Regions from separate parts of the Homo sapiens genome. Here regions 1, 2 and 3 are each linked to region 4. The links are contacts of gene promoters, found by promoter capture Hi-C in human tissues and cell types (Jung and others, 2019). All regions are on one chromosome and are shown on one strand. Each heading gives the region's core, a stretch centred on a gene start or on the middle of the fragment in contact. The rest is flanking DNA. Distances are from core to core; before and after follow the strand shown.

Region 1 (4,946 bases), core at 1,166-3,665, 1.8 Mb after region 4:
ATTATCTCAATAGATGCAGAAAAGTCCTTTGACAAAATTCAACAGCCCTTCATGCTAAAAACTCTCAATAAACTAGGTATTGATGGGACGTCTCCCAAATAATAAGAGCTATTTATGACAAACCCACAGCCAATATCATACTGAATGGGCAAAAACTGGAAGCATGCCCTTTGAAAACTGGCACAAGACAAGGATGCCCTCTCTCACCACTCCTATTCAACAGTGTTGGAAGTTCTGGCCAGGGTAGTCAGGCAGGAGAAAGAAATAAAGGATATTCAATTAGGAAAAGAGGAAGTCAAATTGTGCCTGTTTGCAGATGACATGATTGTATATTTAGAAAACTTAAGCTGATAAGCAACTTCGGCTAAGTCTCAGGATACAAAATCAATATGCAAAAATCACAAGCATTCCTACGCACCAATAACAGACAAACAGAGAGCCAAATCATGAGTGAACTCCCATTCACAATTGCTTCAAAGAGAATAAAATACCTAGGAATGTAGGAATCCAACTTACAAGGGATGTGAAGGACCTCTTCAAGGAGAAATACAAACCACTGCTCAACGAAATAAAAGAGGACACAAACAAATGGAAGGACATTCCATGCTCATGGATAGGAAGAATCAATACCATGAAAATGGCCATACTGCCCAAGGTAATTTATAGATTCAATGCCATCCCCATCAAGCCACCAATGACTTTCTTCACAGAATTGGAAAAAACTACTTTAAAGTTCATATGGAACCAAAAAAGAGCCCACATTGCCAAGACAATCCTAATCCAAAAGAACAAAGCTGGAGGCATCACGCTACCTAGCTTCAAACTATATTACAAGGCTACAGTAACCAAAACAGCATGGTACTGGTACCAAAACAGAGATATAAACCAATGGAACAGAACAGAGCCCTCAGAAATAATACCACACGTCTACAACCATCTGATCTTTGACAAACCTGACAAAAACGAGAAATGGGGAAAAGATTCCCTATTTAATAAATGGTGCTGGGAAAACTGGCTAGCCATATGTAGAAAGCTGAAACTGGATCCCTTCCTTACACCCTATACAAAAATTAATTCAAGATGGATTAAAGACTTAAATGTTAGACCTAAAACCATAAAAACCCTAGAAGAAAACCTAGGCACTACCATTCAGGACATAGGCATGGGCAAGGACTTCATGACTAAAACACCAAAAGCAATGGCAACAAAAGCCAAAATTGACAAATGGGATCTAATTAAACTAAAGAGCTTCTGCACAGCAAAAGAAACTACCACCAGAGTGAACAGGCAACCTACAGAATGGGAGAAAATTTTCGCAACCTACCCATCTGACAAAGGGCTAATATCCAGGATCTACAAAGAACTTAAACAAATTTACAAGAAACAAATCAAACAACCCCATCAAAAAGTGGGCAAAGGATATGAAGAGAAACGTCTCAAAAAAAGACATTTATGCAGCCAACAGACACATGAAAAAATGCTCATCATCACTGGCCATCAGAGAAATGCAAATCAAAACCACAATGAGATACCATCTCACACCAGTCAGAATGGCAATCATTTAAAAAGTCAGGCAACAACAGGTGCTGGAGAGGATATGGAGAAATAGGAACACTTTTACACTGTTGGTGGGACTGTAAACTACTTCAACCATTGTGGAAGTCAGTGTGGTGATTCCTCAGGGATCTAGAACTAGAAATACCATTTGACCCAGCCATCCCATTACTGGGTATATCCCCAAAGGATTATAAATCAGCTTGCTATAAAGACACACGCACATGTATGTCTACTGCGGCACTATTCACAATAGCAAAGACTTGGTACTAACCCAGATGTCCATCAATGATAGACTGGATTAAGAAAATGTGGCACATACATACCATGGAATACTACGCGGCCATAAAAAGGATGAGTTCATGTCCTTTGTAGGGACATGGATGAAGCTGGAAACCATCATTTTGAGCAAACTATTGCAAGGACAGAAAACCAAACACTGCATGTTCTCACTCATAGGTGGGAATTGAACAATGAGAACACTTGGACACAGGGTGGGGAACATCACACATGGGGGCCTGTCGTGTGGTGGGGGGAGGGGAGAGGGATAGCATTAGAAGATATACCTAATGTAAATGACGAGTTAATGGGTGCAGCACACCAACATGGCACATGTATACATATGTAACAAACCTGCACATTGTGCACATGTACCCTAGAACTTAAAGTATAATAAAATAAATAAATTTTAAAAAAAAGAATAGACTTTTCAACAAATGGTATTGAGACGTGCGTAGCCACATTAGAAAAGAATAAAATGAACTCCTTCCTAATGATATATCCAAAAAGTAATTCAAAGTGATTCAAAAATCCCAATGTAAGGGGTAAAAAGCTATAAAATCTTAGAGGAATACATCTTTGGGATCTTAAATTAGGCAATGGTTTTAGATATAACACCAAAGCACAAATGACAAAAGAGTAAATTGAAATTCATGAAAATTAAAGAAGTTTGTGCTTCAAAGGACACAATCAATAAATTAAAAAGACAATATCCAGAATAAAAATTTCAGAAAACTCAATAAAAAGACAATACAAAGTAAAAACGGGCAAGGGATCTGAATAGATATTTCCCCATAAAATATATAAAATAGGCAATATAAAGCACATAAAAAGTTGCTCAAGAGCATTACTCTTCAGGAAAATTGAAATCAAAACGTCAATGATATATCACTTCAAACACATCAGGTGAGCTATAATCAAAAAGACAAACAACAAGTCTTGTTGAGGATACAGAGAAATTCAAAAATTCATACACTGCTAGCAAGAAACATTTGATGGCTTCTCACAAAGTTAAACATATAGTTAGCACAAGATCCAGCAATTCTACTCCTATATACCCGAGAAAACTGAAAATTTATGTCCACTCAAAAATCTGTGCAGAAACGTTCACAGCACCGTTAGTCATAATATCTAAAAAGTGAAAATCATCCTGATGACCATGAAATGATGAACGGGTGAATACCAAACGGTGCTGGGTCCACACAATGCAGTATTAGTTGGCCACAAGAAGGAAGCACTGATGCATGCTATGACATGAATGAATCATGAAAACATGCCAGTTGAATAAATTTGGACACAAAAGGCCACATATTGTATAATCACATTCATATGAACTGTCCAGAATAAATCTATAGAAAAGAAAAGCTGATGATTTACATATGAATCAAGTTAAAAAGTAAATGACTTTCCCTCAGCTGAAAAAGAACATACTGCACCACTCATTTAGGTTTTATTTTAAAGTTCACATATCAGTAAAATGAGCGACAAAAGCAATTAACTGTTAAACAATTTTGCATCTTATGTTGGTAGGCAAAAAATACCACAAGATGATAATGTAGGTAAGATATAGTAATGCCTAAAAGAATTCAGGATACTCTCAAAGAAGAAGTAAAATGTACAGATAACTAGGATTTCCATGAGAAGGATGATATTCCTGGAAGAGAAGAAAAGTGTGAGAAAATGTAAACCAGTCTGAGAAGCTTACATATGTGCCAAGGCTATAGCACGGATTTGGGTGAAAATGAGGCTGGAAAGGACTTTCATGGACAAAACTGTGACCCTTGCACCAACCTCATACTTTGTCCAGTGAATTTAGGCCTCTCTTCTGCCTTAGAAAAGTTCCAAAAAAGAATGACAATTTCACACTCTTCTAATTTTTATAGTTTCCAATAAGATACATCTCCAATAACTTATCATACTTCTTTAATTTCCTTTGCCTCCTGTATTAAATGGAATACAAAGCTTTCTATTATTTGGAGTTTTATTCCCCAAATAAGATGTTAAGACTTGACCTACTGTTGTACTTTCAAAAATAACAGTATACTAAAATGTTCACAGACACATATATTATTTTTAAAAACTATCCTTTACTTCCAAACTAGAATGATTCGGGAGCCAATAAATTCTGAAATTTGTGGTAAGGCATCTCAAACAATAAATACAGGAATTTTTTTCTGACATCTCTGCTGCATTCCTCTTTTTCTTTCACTGCAGTTTTAAATTCTTCACAACAGATAACAAAGACAGTATGGATTCTTAAAAAACGGTATCTCAGTTAGGTTTTATGATCATCTACATAGTTAAAACAACATCTAAGTCTAAGTAATAATTGCAGCATGAGGGCAAAATGGGCACCATTAATTTCTAAAATTCCAATACCTTACTGGAATTGATACAGGCCATACCCAACATCGTTGATGAAGTAGTGTTTTCCAGCAAGAAGGCTGGGGGATGTGAAGAAAATATAAGGTAAGGAAAGGGCAGAGCAGAGGAGCCACGATGAGAGGAGAGGGGAGGACAGCAGAGAGGAGACCTGTACACGCGATGCTCTCATATTCCTATGGCTGTGTATAATATTCTGCAAAGGAAAATTGACTGAGATGGAAGCTATTTTGCATGGTACAGTGGCAATGGCTAACAAATGAGAGTTTTGTGGGCTGAATGTTAGTCCCCTGCCTCATCTGCCACCCCTAATGACAGCAGCCACCTGCTGTTTTATTGTCACAGCTGGAGCCAGTTCACACTCCTTGGTGCTGAGCTCTGCCCATGAGCACCAAGCGCTCTCTTCGCCTCATTACTTTGATGAACTTTTTATGGTCAGCACCCATGAAGACCTCATCTAGAACTCCACAACACAAACTGGCTTCTGGGAGCACTTTCAGTTACAGGAGGTGATAACACACAGTGACACAACGGCTTTCGTGTCTGTCAGCTAGTTCAGAAGTCACTGCACTATATTTTTGACATAACAGGGTCCACAACAGGTAAAACTGCCATGAAATTCCCATACTTAATAATGTTCTTTCCTCCTCATTTTGATGTGAAGATCATAGGATACTGCCATAATGAAGTCTTTTAATGGTACATGTTATTATACAAAACCTAATGTACTG
Region 2 (4,774 bases), core at 1,585-4,084, 1.5 Mb after region 4:
GGCTTTAATTGTATTGTCCTGAAGGGTGGTGACATTGAACACCATCTCATCTACTTACTGGCCACTTGCACATTGTCTTCTGCTATTTTTTTTGTTTGTTTATTTATTTTTTTTATTATTATTATACTTCAAGTTTTAGGGTTACAGAATTGAACAATGCTATTTTTCTTAGTTGGGTTTTTGTCTTATTTTTGAGTGGTGATTTGTTCTTTAAGTACTCTAGAATCAAGAACTAGGCCAGATATATATAAAAATATATAAAAACTATTTTATATCTATCTATATATATATATCTTTTCTCTTTATTTTCTTAACAGTATCTTTTGAAGAGCAAAAGCTTTCAACTTTGATGGTTCAATTTATCAGTTCTTTTTCTTTCACCATTTGTGCTTTTTACATCCTATCCAAGAAATCTCTGAATATCTCAAAGTCAGAAAAATTTTCTCCTATGTTTTGTTCCAAAAGGTTTAGAAGTTTAACTTTCATATTTAGGCTTTTGATCCATTTTGAGGCAATTTTTTGAATGGTGTAAGGGTTAAGGTTCATTTTTTTATATGGATATATAATATTTCAGAACCGTTAATTAAAAAGATCATTCCTTCCTCCTTGGCATCTTGTTGAAAATCAACTGACCACACGCTTGTGTGGGTCTATTTGTGGCCTTCCGACTATGTTTCTTGCATCCATATGTCTTCATTATTGTATCTTTAGAGTAGGTATTGGAATCCAGTATGCATGTCTTCCAAGTTTGTTTTCTTTTCCAAAACTGTTTTGATTATTACAGGTTCTTTGCATTCCCACACACATTTTAGAAGCAGCTCATCAATTTCTACCAAAAGCCTCCTAGGATTTGGCTGGGATTGTGTTGAATCTATAGATCAATGTGGGGATACCTGACATTTAACAACACTGAGTCCTCCCATCTATAAATGTGGAATCTCTACTATCTTGGTCTTCTTTAACTCCTCTAAGCGGTGTTTTGTAGTTTTTATTGTACAGGTCTTGAATATATTTTAAAAAATGTATCCCTAAGTATTTGAACATTATTCTAATCCAGTTTTTTTTTTCTAGTTTTGCTTTAAAATTTAATTTCCTTGGCTGTATTTTTCTAACTTTTAATTAGGCCACAGGCACACAAGACAGGCAGCTTCACTAACCCCTCAGAGTTCACATCATATTCTCCTCTCTTCAAGAATTTTATTTGTCACTGAAAGGAGACATTCTCTTATTGCTTAAACAGAGCCCGATCAATAGAGAAGCCTGTGATGCTTCCTGCTAAGGTGGCTCTTTTCTCAACACACATTCTTGTTGGAGGAGATGAACACGGACACCACACGTGAGCTCACCGTTCCTCGCGTACAATCTTACTGGGTTTGGTAATACAGTAAGACCTATAATAATAATTGCACCATTCTCTACATATTGCTGTAATAAATTTCACAGACACTGATGATGTTATCGTCTATCAAAGGAGCTATAAAATCAATGTGATCTTAACAACTTTGGACTTATCTATGTATGGATTAAAAGCTTGAAAAAAATTCCCCGGTACTGACACAACGACACGCCTCTAAGCAGCATGAACTTTCCAGTGCTCAATGCACTTCGGAGTATGCCATTTCTAACACACGCGATGTGTATCAGCTAATGTATTTTGTCTGTTCCTGAAACACTTATATGATGTTTAGTCAAAATGTCTGGTGTTGGGGTTGCCCATCGAGAATAAAAAATATTTTTAAAAAGCTCAAAAATACCTTTACATGAAGGATACTAGTCCTAATATTTTAAACAAATACTAGACACAATATCCTATATGAACATACATTAACATGTTAAAGAATGTATAAGAAAGATAAACATAATACATTTTAAAAAATCTCCCCCTTTTTCTTAGAAATAATATAACTAAGAGAAAAAATAGAAGAATAAACAGGATTTTTGTCTGGAATATACAGGATACGGCATATTCTTCATTCACATACTCATCGAAAAGTGTGTGTGCGTTTGTGTGTGTTTTTCAATCCATATTTTTAAGAACTAAGGACAATCTGAATTTACTTCCAGCTATCTACATTTATTGTAACATAATATGATTGCATGTTTCCTCTGAGAGGGAAAAAATTGGAGATGTTTTCGAAACCACACTGTAGTTGTTAAATAAAAGCTTAAAGTGAAACTGAGAGAGAGAATGCCAAGTATAAAATGGATGACATTCATGGATGGGGGCTACTATTCAATGGCTGAAATGGTTAGACTTTCTTGAATTTTCATATAATACACTAGTAATTTGTAAACTCATGTGGTCCGAGAAACAGTATTAGCTAAATGGCTTCTTTGGAGTATTTAAATTTTATTTTGGTGACAATTCTTAATTTAACAGTAGTGCCATTTCACTATAATATGTCAAAATACTTCCTTTGGTAACAGAGTACATGACGTAGTTAAAGTTTTCTGGCAGTGCATCTAGCATCCTAAAGTATGTTAACTATTCCCACCGAGAGCTCACATTTATTCCTATTTCACAGTAAGTTGTCAAACGTCAGCAGAAAAATCAACACTAGACTGCATTTGTATTTATTAGTTTGTATGCCGAAGTCTGTCTTATGGTGAAACTGCTGTGTGCTGTGAGGGGCAGTGGATGTGTCTGCATACAATGAGTGCCAATGCTGAGGACACACAGTGACATGGAGATGGCAAAAATGCTGTATGTTCACACAGGATGCTGCAGTACACACACTGCTTTCATATTCCATCCTCATAAGTATTCTATGAGCCAGTCAACAAGAAATTATTTTCATTTTACAAAGATTATAACTGAAGTTCAATCAGGGAAACATATCAGTCCATAGTCTGGTGGCAGGGCTAGACTAGAACTCTGATGTTGGCAGTCACAATTCCATACGCTCTGCCTGGAAAAAGTGTGGTCTAAGGTTAGGAAGGCCACGGGGTCCATTTGCTTCCTTCCTGTTTCACTGTCAAGCAATGACAGTTTTTTGTACTACCCTGGCTGTTCAATGGCCCAAAGCAACAGGCAGAGTTGGGCCCCACGTGTGGCTCCTGTCCCAGCAGTGAGTGGCAGCTCAGAACAGCGCCAGAAGGTCCCTTCTGCTCGATCCTCTCTAAAGGCCTCCAGAATGGAATGATTTAGAGCCACACATTTCTTTTTCTCTTAATTCCGAATTTTAACATCGGTTATTAGTTGGAAGACTGGCTTTCCTCCTTATTTTTGTTTGCTTTCCCTAAGGATAACACTAATTTAGGTGGTTGTAATAATTAGCCAGGAACTCAAAGATTAGTCTAAAGTTTGTTCTCATAGTTCCTATTAATAAACACTTAGTAGACTCCAGACTTTCCTCATGTCAACGACATCAACAAAAAGAAGTTGAATTAATATGATATAGGAAACACTGTAACTCTAAAATAACTAATTCTCTGTATTGAATGATCAGCAATATTTATTCACCTTTTCATGTTTTATTTTTCTTCCTACACAGGAACATATTAATGTATAAAGGGTATTTTAAGGAGGTAAAAATTACCAGAGTAGTGAACAAAGTTAAAGCTGAAACTGTTTAACAGGGTGATTCAAATAAAGAGGTAAAAATAATACCAACAAAATGTATAAAGAAAAGACTATTCTTTTATGAATATAGGATGCACTAATCAGAACTGTGCTCAAATATCGACAATGCATTCGGTCTTTGGGGTCACTAATGTATCACTGCATATATTATTAGAAAAGGTAATTTATATTGCTGAGAGCTAGCACACTACAAAATTCTAAAAATACTGTAATATATTTTTCAAATTTGGACTCAAGAGTTAAAAATAAATGAACAGATCTTCAAAAGGTAAACAATTTGACTCTACGCACATTCAGAATCAGAGCCAATGATCCTGAGTGGACTAGAGAAGTCCAGTTATGTGATACTTTGTTAATCACAAATGCAGGGCCAGCTCTTCACCATCTTTGATCCCTGGAAACTTTTTGGCAGAGTGGATCGTCTTTGCTTCAACAAATTTCCATTTTATAATTAATGGTGGCATTTCTGCCCAAACATAGCATTAAATAAATCTCAGAAACAATACGGGATTTTCTTAACCATCATTTAGTTTTTAGGTTTTGGGCACTATGGCACATAGTTGGTTATTAACATCCATTTATTGGATGTTGAGCAGGTAACACAAAGTTAAGAATGAACTGAAATCATGTTTTAAGACCTATAAAAGGTCATAACAACTTACATGCTGAACCTAAATGAACTCTAAACATAAACTACATACAATTTGATATGGAATTAAAAATTGGACATAAAACCAATATGTCATATATTGTAAACATAATAAAAATTAAACTTTTAACTTGCTGATCTTATTAAATTTTAGAATAGTTTTTGGCAGGAATGATTTGGATGGCCCAGGTACTTTTAAAAAAGATGTGATGACTTTTTTTTTCCTCTGGTAACTTCAGTTGCAGTGAGCAGCGGCAGGAACATTTGCAGCACTCACCTGAGGTATGTGAGGGGCAGCGCAGGCTTAGGCGAGGCTCGCTGGGAGTGGCTAACGACCTGGACAACGAGGTACACAGAGAAGAACCCTAGTCCGAGAGCTAGTTCTGTTAACTACTGGTTATAGAAATGTGGACAAATCCCTAGCCTTTCTAAAGTCAATTTGATTTTCTATAAAAGAAGAGAGATGGTTTTCCCTCCTCAGAGGGCTGTTATCAAGTAATATGACAGAAATTGTCTATGACCTGCCAAATACTATTACAACA
Region 3 (4,683 bases), core at 2,046-4,545, 1.9 Mb after region 4:
AAGTATTAATAATTATCATCGAATCCAGTCTTCTTTTTCATATCTCTACACCTGAGTCTTTACAGGAGGTCAACTGAAGAGTTAAGTTCTATCACATTCCTCCAAGAACCTGTCTCTCCATCTCCATCAAATCTTTTTCACACAAACAGAAAAGTCCCTACGTAGAGTATGCAAAATAAAAAATCATGTTTGTTTTTGAGATATTTGGTATATACAAAAAACTTTTAATATGTGTAAAGGTGTTGTGCAAAATATAACAAAATCCTGAGTGCAGATAATACTTCAAGAAAAACAAATTATCTCTGATAATTTGTCCCTCTGTGTTCCCATCACCTTCCTTCTTATACAGTTATCCACCGACTTGAGTCTTGCATGTATCACTTGTTTTTCTTTATTACTTTATCATATCCATATTTCTAACAATCTACAATTTTGTTTTTGCATGTTTCTAAACTTTAAAAAAAGGGAAAAAACTGTGTATTCTTCTACAAGTAGCTTTTTTCCCCCTTGAGATTATGTTCCAGCTGCGTATTATCCTTGGTGATGAATGCAGCTAACATTCACTCAATCTCACTACTGTACGGGACTTCACTATGGGAATATGATACAATGCAGGCATCTGTTCTCCTCTGATGGACATTGCTCCCAGTCTTTCCTCTTACAAAGAGCGTGACTGTGAGCATCCTTGCACATGTCTCCAGGCACTCATGCGCATGAGTTTCTCTAGGGTAATACCTTTCATATTTTAGCATCACATTCCCTACAGGGCTTGACAGTCAGAAACCTGGCCCATCCTTAAAGTTGCTGATTCAGTAGGTCCACAGCAGAGACCCCAGATCTGCATTTCAAACAAGTTCCCAAATGATGCTGCGAAACAATTCAGAAACCACTGCTCCAAGATAAAGACTGAGTGGAATTACTGGGTCAAAGGATACAGGTATCTCAACTTTACTAGATACTCCCAAAGGCAGCCTATCACTTCCACCAGCTGTATATAAGCATTCCAGTTGTTTCCTGTCCTCCCAACAATATTGTCAGACTTTTTACATTGTTGCCAATCTAATGTGTAAGAAACTATACATCATTTTGGTCCTAATTTGCATTTCCCTAATTACTAATGAAGTTGAGCATTTTTGCATTCAAGTTTCCTCTTCTGTGAAATGCCTACTTAGGTCATTTGTCCCCTTTTCTGTTGTTCTTACTGATTTGTAGTCACCCTGCTGGATACTAACCTTTTATTAGTAATATGTGCTGAATATGTCTATTCTCCCTATGACCTGTCTGTTCACTTTCTTGATGGTTTCTCTTAATAAACAAAAGCTATATCAACATTAGTGTTGTCAAACATATTGATCTTTTCCTTTATGGTCTGCACCCTCTGTGATCTTTTTAAGACCCCTTTCCTATACCAGAGTCATACAACTACTGTCCTGCATTGCCTTCTGAAAGTTTCATAGTTTTGCCTTCTATATTTAAGCCTTTAATTGACCTGCGGTTGATTTTTGTGAGTAATGTGAATTAAAAACATACCCCACCCTCAGGAAGTTTCCTGTTTGGTAAGGACCACATGTAACTTTAGAGAGGATATCAAAAGTGATGGAATATTCATTAGGTGTTAACCATTACTTCATTGAGGTTTATTCTGCTCTCTCATTGAGACAAAAAATTGGAAAATTTCACATGAACATTTGGAAGGTTATTTGCAAACTGTAGTCAGACTATGATCCCCACTTACTACACCCCAGGAAGAAACCTTAAAAATGTCCCAAAATAGGCTGGGCGTGGTGGCTCATGCCTGTAATATCAGCACTTCGGGAGGCTGAGGTGGGCGGATCACCTGAGGTGAGGGGTTCGAGACCAGCCTGGCCAACATGGTGAAACCCCCATCTCTACTTAAAAAAAAAGCAGAAATTAGCCCGGTGTGGTAGTGGGCACCTTAATCCCAGCTGCTTGGGAGGCAGAGGCAGCAGAATTGTTTGGGCCAGGGAGGCGGAGGTTGCAGTGAGCCGAGATGAGCCATTGCACTCAAGCCTGGGGGACAAGAACGAGACTTCTCAACAAAATAAAACAAAAAAAAGTCCCAAAATATTTAAGTCCTATTCTAAAAAACTAAAGAGTTAAGCATTGGGAAAGTACAGGAAAACGAACGTCCTCAAATGGTAATTACCTAAATGGGTAATTACCTATCTGGAGGGTAAGCTGCTTGCACGCATGCACGCACAAGAGAGACCGAGAGGGAGAGGGGAAATGTGGGTTTCAGGATGTTCACCATGAACTGTAGAGAAAAACTGGAAACAACCTACTATCCAACAATGGGGGATGGTTAAAAGTAAAGCTAATGTGGCAATCCATCTACTTGAATACTGTTAGATTACACAGCTCCACAATCATGTGAAAAGATTTCACAAAATTCTGGTAACTTGCAAAAGCAGCTAACAAAATGCACGTATAGTATTCATTTATTCATCAAATATTTATGAGTGGCTTGTGTATTGCAGGTCCCAAGCAAGTCACTGGAAAACAAAAAGAGACTTGTTCCCTGCCTCCAAGAAGCTTACAAGCCTGTGAAGGATATATCCAATATGTTTCTTCCAATGTGCTCCGGTTGGGACAATAAAGGCATATGTGTTTTGAGAATAGAGACAATTTATATTATATAAAGCATATATAATATATACAGCAATGTCATCCACATGATCTACAAATAAAACATACCTACCCAGCTCTAGGAACCACCAAATGGATAAGCCACAGGATACTTAGGGTGACTACCCTCTGATGAACTGAAACACAGTCATGCACTACCTAATGATGTTTTGGTCAACAATGGACCACATACATGATGATGGTTCCCTATCATTACAACGGAGCTGAAACATTCCTATTGCCTAGTGACATCATTTAGCTGTTGTAATGTCTTAGTACAACACATTTCTCACGTTTGTGGTGATGCTGGTGTAAGCAAACCTACTACACTGCCAGTTATACAAAAGTGTAATCTCCTAGGCCTTCGCATTCTCTCACCACTCACTCACTGACTCACCCAGAGCAACTTCCAGTCCCACAAGCTCCATCATGGTAAGTGCTCTAAACAAGTATACCTTTTTTTTATCTTTTATACCATATTTTTACTGCACCTTTTCTATGTTTGGATAGATTTAGATACACAAAATACTTACCATTGAGTTACAATTGCCTACAGCATTCAGTACAGTAACATGCTATATGGGTTTGTTGCCTAGGAGCGGTAGACCACACCATATAGCCCAGGTGTGTAGCAGGCTGCACCATCTAGGTTTGTATACTCTGTGATGTTCACACAACAATGAAATCACCTAGAGGCATTTCTCAAGAATGTATCCCCCCTGCACAGGTAGGGAAAGTCATTCACTGGAAGACAAATGTGAGACAGAGTGCAGAACCACAGCAAAAGAACTGGACAGCTTCCTCGGCTGCCAATTCAATACTGATTGATTGACGGAGATCAGCAAATGCATGTACTTCCAACAGCTTAAGCCTTTACCTCTCCCCTGCTATGTTTGGTTCTAATAAATAATAACAAACCTTCTCAAGATATGAAATACCCCACAGTTAAAGTCAAACTCAAAAGATTCTGATATTATGTTCATTTGTTTCAAACTTTCTGCACCAAAATCAAAAAAAAAATGAGTCATTAATCACAAAGAAAAAAATGTTTAACCTCACAGTACAAAAACCTGACACGTCATCACCTCAACCAAGAGATCAAAGTTCACGTTCACCAGAAGAAGACATATCTATATCACATACCTCCTCATATGATGCACTGAGAAGGACATGATTTCACCCCTGTGCTAGTATTCCCACCAAAAATGCCTAAACCTCAATTTAACAAGAAAGAGCATCAGACAAATCCAAACTGAGGGACATTCTACAAAATAACTGGCCAGTATTCTTCAAAAGTATCAAAGTCATGAAAGACAAAGCAATCTAAAGGAACTGGCCAGGCGCGGTGGCTTACACCTGTAATCCCAGCACTTTGAGAGGCCAAGGCAGGCGGATCACTTGAGGTTAGGAGTTCAAGACCCGCCTGGCCAACATGGAGAAACCACGTATCTACCAAAAACACAAAAATTAGCCGGATGTGGTGGTGCACTCCTGTAATCCCAGCAACTCAGGAGGCCGAGGCAGAAGAATCGCTTGAACCAGGAGGCGGAAACTGCAGTGAGCCGAGATGAGCCACTGCACTCCAGCCTGAGTGACAGAGCAAGACTCTGTTTCCAAAAAAAAAAGAAATCTAAAAGAACACTATCACAGACTGGAGAGACCAAGGAGACATAACAAAATACAATGTGGGATACTGGGTTGGATCCTGGACCAGAAAAAAAGGATATCAATGGAACCATTGGTTAAATTCAAATAAATGTTTTAGATTAATTGTTACCAATTGCCTGGTTTCAATGATTGTATTATGGATACATGAGAACAACAGGAGATGCTGGCCAAAAGGTATATACATAGGAACTTTCTAGACTATTTTTGCAATTCTTTTTTCTAAAATTATTTCAAAGTAGAAAGTTTTAAAAAGTCATTTCAGATGAAAGATAAAAAGACAAAAGGGAGGGATTATTGACTCTAACATAAAAATATGCTATCTCTAACTTCTGTGCTAAAAATGTTCAATAACTACAAATAAGGATTAAG
Region 4 (5,158 bases), core at 669-3,168:
TTCCTCTTCTGCCCACCCTGGGTCCTGCCATTCTTCAGGTGTGGCTCCTGAGAGCACCGGCCTGTGAGACCCTGCGGAGAAATCACCGCCAACCGTGTGAGCACTCACCGCAGGGAAACAGCCTTCCACCACCTCCGCCTCCTGCTCTTGACCAAGCCCGCTAGGAGCACTAGGCCTCAGCCTCCTCATCTGTAAGACAGGGGCCAAAATGGTCTTAATTCTCAGAGTGTCATAAGCATGAAATGAGAGCGTGCACAGAAAGCCCTTACTTAGGCTTGGTGTGTAGTGAACGCCCAATAGAAGTGCTTGGTGTGCAGTGAATGCACAATAGAAGAAGTGATATGTGGCCGGGCGCGGTGGCTCACGCCTGTAATCCCAACACTTTGGGAGGCCGAGGTGGGCGGATCACGAGGTCAGGAGATCGAGACTATCCTGGGTAACGCGGTGAAACCCCGTCTCTACTAAAAATACAAAAAATTACCCAGGCGTAGTGGCGGACGCCTGTAGTCCCAGCTACTTGGGAGGTTGAGGCAGGAGAATGGCGTGAACCCGGGAGGCGGAGCTTGCAGTGAGCCGAGATCGCGCCACTGCACTCCAGCCTGGGCGACAGAGCGAGACTCCGTCCCCCCAAAAAAAGAAGTAGCGGTATGTATGATGTTGTTCGTCACAGAAAGCATGGAAAATACAGAAAGACACAGAGAAGAGAGTAAATTCACCCATGGGTCTACTGCCGGGTTAACAGGCACTACCAAGATTTCAGGTGGTGGGGGCGCACGCGCATGCGCACCAACACACGGGCCCTAGAAAAATAAACTCGGGATCCTAAGCGTGTACGCTGCGGTGCCCACACACGCGTCTGCCGTTCTCACCCCGTTTTCTGCTTTAATTTTCTGCTTAAATTGGTCATTTTCTGTGAAATGCACATTCCACTTCTGGGTAGTGTGCACCGCCCATCTCCCCCACGGAGTGCAGGAAGGTGGCAGCGGGGCTGTGTTCCAGGCCAAGGCCACACAGCCCGGGGGGCCGCACGCGGGGGCAGCCTTGGTACACGAGGCCTTTCATTTGTTGGTTTTACAGCTGGAAGAATTCGGATATACTTATTGACCGAGAGAAGAGTCCAAAACTCAGGAGTGGAAAATAACGAAGAATGAAGAAAGGAAACAGGAAGAGGTTGACCTGATTGATGGAAAGGAGCTCCTCTTTCTCCAAAACCAGAAGGAAAAGGAAGATTTAGAGAGCAGAGGAGGGTAAGTTTCCCCCGGATAATATGGGTTCAGTTGCATAATACGGCCAGGATGTTATCTGCAAAGAAGCTGTGGGGAGGAGAAGGCAGAGCAAGGAGCGCAGGGCTGAGACTGTGGGAGATGCAGCCGGAAATGACAAAACAGAAACAAAACGTGACCAAGGCCATTTGGGGTCCAGCTGAAGTTCAGCGGCTTAGATGCGTAGTAAGTCCCATGAGCACTGTTGCACGACTTGCCCACAGCTGTTCACATATGGACTTTGCAGCTCACATTGACTCTGGCCAGGGCGGGAGAGCCGGGGAGCCAGGCAGGTGCGTGGGAAGGGAGAGAAGAAAGGGAAGACGCGGTGCCCATTCCATATTTACCTTAGTAGTCATCCAGACGCACTTCCCTCTCCAATCCCCAAACAAGAAGAGGCAGAAACTGTCTACCAGTTAGACGGGAGGTGTCAGCGCCCCTGGAGGCTGTGGCCATTGCCAGGGAGACCCCACTCTGCACAGCTCACAAACACACCGTGTGTGTGCAGGGTCCTCACCCGCCCTGGGCAGGAAATGGGGGAGTTCTACGTCCACTTTGTCACGCAGACAATGGAGGGGACCGCAGAAGGGGCTTCCCCAAGGACACAGAGCCAGTGGCCGCCTCACTGTGTGCCCCTCAGTGGGCGTTTCCACACTGCCTGGCAACTTTGAGAACAGCCGCTTTCGCTGGGTCTCCAGTGAAACTTGAAACCATTTGCATCTGCAAGTACTTTACTTATTCCATTTCAAAGGCATGCACATTTTTAAAGGGACACTGTTTTTAGCTCCTGCGTCACTGACTCATCCCGCATAATTTGACTTTATGGGACAGGGTCCCCTAAGGAGTGTCCTTGCCTTGACAGTCCTGTCTTGAAAGCTGTGAAGACCAAGTGGTGCCATATATATTGTTTTAAAATTATGGACTACCTAGAAAAGAGGTGAAATAGTAAAAAAAAGCAAAACTTTTAATATTCAATGACAAACACAGACAGAAAATAGGGAAAAATTAAATGTTAATGTGTTGGGATGATTGGATTTTGAATAAATTTTATTTATTGAATTGATATGAAGTTTATGGAACAGGGATAAACAGTTTGTTTCATATGATTATATATTTAGGTATTCGTTGACATACATATATACGTATACATATACACGTATGTATTGCCGTGTGTACATATAGACACATAGCATGTATGTATAAAACATATACATATGTGCCAAATTACAAAACGAGAAGTCGTGTTGCTCATCCTGCTCTATTATAAGAAACCTCAAGCAACAGTAGGTACTGGAAAATGCCAAGTCTGCATGATCCCGGCAAGGGCAGATCCTGCCACTGGAGTTCTGGAATGCATCTCTCCCCACTTGGCAAAGATGCAGGGTGCAGAGGGGGTGTCAGCAGAGGGGCTGGGTGCAGAGGGGTTGCAGACTTACCACAGGAGGACTTTATCAAGAGATGTGGGTTTTCTGGGCATCCAGGACACCCACAATGGGGTGACAGAATTGTCTGTGGAGTGGAGTCCTAGTATTGAACTTGGCAGCTGCTACCGGATGCTCTTCTGGCACCTATGTTTTCAGAAAAACAGGAGCTGGCCAAGAGTATTTGCCAGATTTCTCCCTGGATTGGACTGATTTCTGCACTCAGCCCAGGTTTGTTTTTTTTTTTTTTTGGTGTGTGCCCCCGCGCCCGGCTAATTTTTGTATTTTTAGTAGAGACGGGGTTTCACCTTGTCAGCCAGGCTGGTCTCGAACTCCTGACCTCAGGTGATCCGCCTGCCTTGGTCTCCCAAAGTGCTGGGATTACAGGCGTGAGCCATGGCACCCGGCCTCAAACCAGCCTCAATCTGAAGGACGTGCATACTCTCCACAGGTCCCACAGGTCTTTCTAGGGTCCTTGCCCCTTACGTGCACTTCCTCTCTGAAGAGGTCCTTCCTCCACCATGTTGTCCCAGCCTGAAATTGTCCCTCATTATGGAGACTTGAGTGGTGTCTCCCACTGACTCCTCTCTCAAGGGGTGAGGGTTTGCTTGACCAGACACCAGCAGTGGGGCACACCCCTTCCAGTTCACCCTGATGAGCTCCTTATGCCACCACAGGGTCAAAATCAGGTTTAATAGCAGCAGCATTCGCAGTAGCCACAAAATGGAAACAACTCAAGCACCCCTCCAAGAGGGGGAATGGATAAGTAAAGTGTGCTGTATCCCCACGATGGAATATTATTCACTCATGAGAAGGAGTGAAACACTGGCACATGCCACAACGTGGATGAACCTTAAAAGCCTTATGCTGAGTGGAGGACGTCAGGCACAAAATACCACAGATTGTTATGAGCCCAGTTGTATGAAATGTCCAGAAGAGGCAAATCCATAGAGACAGAAAGCAGATCCGAGGTCGCCAGGGTCTGAAGGAGTCGGGGATGGGGAATGATTGCTAATGGGTCCAAGGGGGCTTTCCTTTCTGCATGAGGACAGTGTTTTGAAACTGGAGGTGATGGTGGCATAACACCGTGACTACACTAAATGCCACTGAGTTGTACACTTTTGATTTTAGGCTATGTGAGTTTTACTTCAGTTAAAAAAATAGATTGAAGGCTCAGAGAGATTTAGGGGTGGGAGGGTAAGGATTTAGGATTCAAAAGAACTTGACTAAGGAGCTGAGAATCTTAAATATATTTCCAGTGTCATTGGGTTACTGGCTGACCTCTGTGTGCTACCTTGGTACCCTACCCCAATCGACGCTTTGTTCTATGAGAAAAAGCATTCTGAGCTTCAAGTAACTGAAGTAACTGATTTATAAACAAACCGTTGGAATATAATCTTTTTCTTTTTAATTGTTGGGGACTATCTGTAATTTAGTCTCTAAAATATAGTTAATCTTTGGCTCTTGCTCTGAATTAATCAATAAAAAAGACATCATAGTGGTAATCTTTGGGGGAAGTGAAATTCAATTTAATCCATTTTTTCTATTTGTTAGCTCCTCCGGTAATTGGTTTGATGGGGAAGAAGTTTGAAGTTATTGGTTAAATAGAGGTTTTTGGATTATCTGTGAATTTCAATTATCCATGCTTCACCTGGCCCCAATTAGCACTAATAATCGAGTTAACTGAATAGAAGTCATTTCCCATCATATCAGTTTTGCTATAGGCTTATTAGTTGTTTCACTAATGGGCCCCCCAAAAGACAAAGCCTCTTTCTCCATCAGGCACTCACACCCCCATACCACAATTTGTCAAACTAGTGCTGTATTGTTAACGGTATGAAACAAATGCTCTTAATAACAAAACATGTAGCTGAGGAGTGAAACCAGAAATGTCTAAAGTGCATTTATAGTCAGAAGGTATTACAAGACATTTCTAAAGTCTTGTTAGAAATTTTAATCAACGTTTTCAAGTGATTTGTATTTTCAATTTCAATTGAGGTTGTCACTGTCTTAATTTATCCTGATTTAAATTAAGACAGCTTTTAAAAGTGCCTGTTAATTTTAGCAATCTACCCATTTTCAGATGTGTTATTTATGTTTACCAATCACAATCTACATGCCTTTTAAGGTTTCAGTTTCTCTTCTTGGACACATTTGTATTTATATTAAACATAATAAATATCTCCCATTCCAAGAGCCCAGTTTTGACCTTCTTTGATCTCTGAGTCCCAGCATCCCTTAACTTGACATATAAATTAGCCCAGCCCCTCCCGGGAGGCTGGGACCTGAGGGTAGTGTTTCCTCCACTCCCTCGCCCCCTTTTGAATCTCCAGCATCATGTTTTTCCATTGCCATGGAGATGCAGCTATGTACACAGAGTGCAACAAACCCAGCGAATGGGAAAAGTCCCGGCTGAGATAGAATTACTAACTAAACAAATGCTATTGGTAACAGGGTGCCAGGGAGGGATACCCA

The links. Contacts are between HindIII fragments. The study calls those that stand out against the background at their distance.
Region 1: a fragment that was not itself captured here is called in contact with the fragment with the promoter of LINC00908 in region 4 in 1 of the 25 tissues and cell types used here (dorsolateral prefrontal cortex).
Region 2: a fragment that was not itself captured here is called in contact with the fragment with the promoter of LINC00908 in region 4 in 1 of the 25 tissues and cell types used here (dorsolateral prefrontal cortex).
Region 3: a contact is called between a fragment that was not itself captured here and the fragment with the promoter of LINC00908 in region 4, in 1 of the 25 tissues and cell types used here (dorsolateral prefrontal cortex).

Annotation. Positions count from the first base shown.
Region 1 is chr18:74,748,668-74,753,613 of GRCh38, reverse strand. All of the region lies in intron 3 of ZNF407 (zinc finger protein 407), which reads right to left. Among named protein-coding and RNA genes, the nearest start is that of ZNF407, 150 kb to the right of the region's middle. The HindIII fragment of the contact is 7,081 bases long and covers 1-4,946 here.
Region 2 is chr18:74,983,989-74,988,762 of GRCh38, reverse strand. The region is part of intron 8 of ZNF407 (zinc finger protein 407); the gene reads right to left. Among named protein-coding and RNA genes, the nearest start is that of PTGR3, 220 kb to the left of the region's middle. The HindIII fragment of the contact is 3,800 bases long and covers 935-4,734 here.
Region 3 is chr18:74,607,944-74,612,626 of GRCh38, reverse strand. The region is part of intron 1 of ZNF407 (zinc finger protein 407); the gene reads right to left. Among named protein-coding and RNA genes, the nearest start is that of ZNF407, 12 kb to the right of the region's middle. The HindIII fragment of the contact is 4,267 bases long and covers 1,162-4,683 here.
Region 4 is chr18:76,525,415-76,530,572 of GRCh38, reverse strand. It overlaps LINC00908 (long intergenic non-protein coding RNA 908), which reads right to left and starts at 1,918. Exons shown (of 3, transcript NR_015417.1): 1 at 1,610-1,918; 2 at 109-189. RefSeq lists enhancers at 257-896, 1,320-1,399, 897-1,535, 1,536-2,176. The HindIII fragment of the contact is 15,253 bases long and covers 1-5,158 here.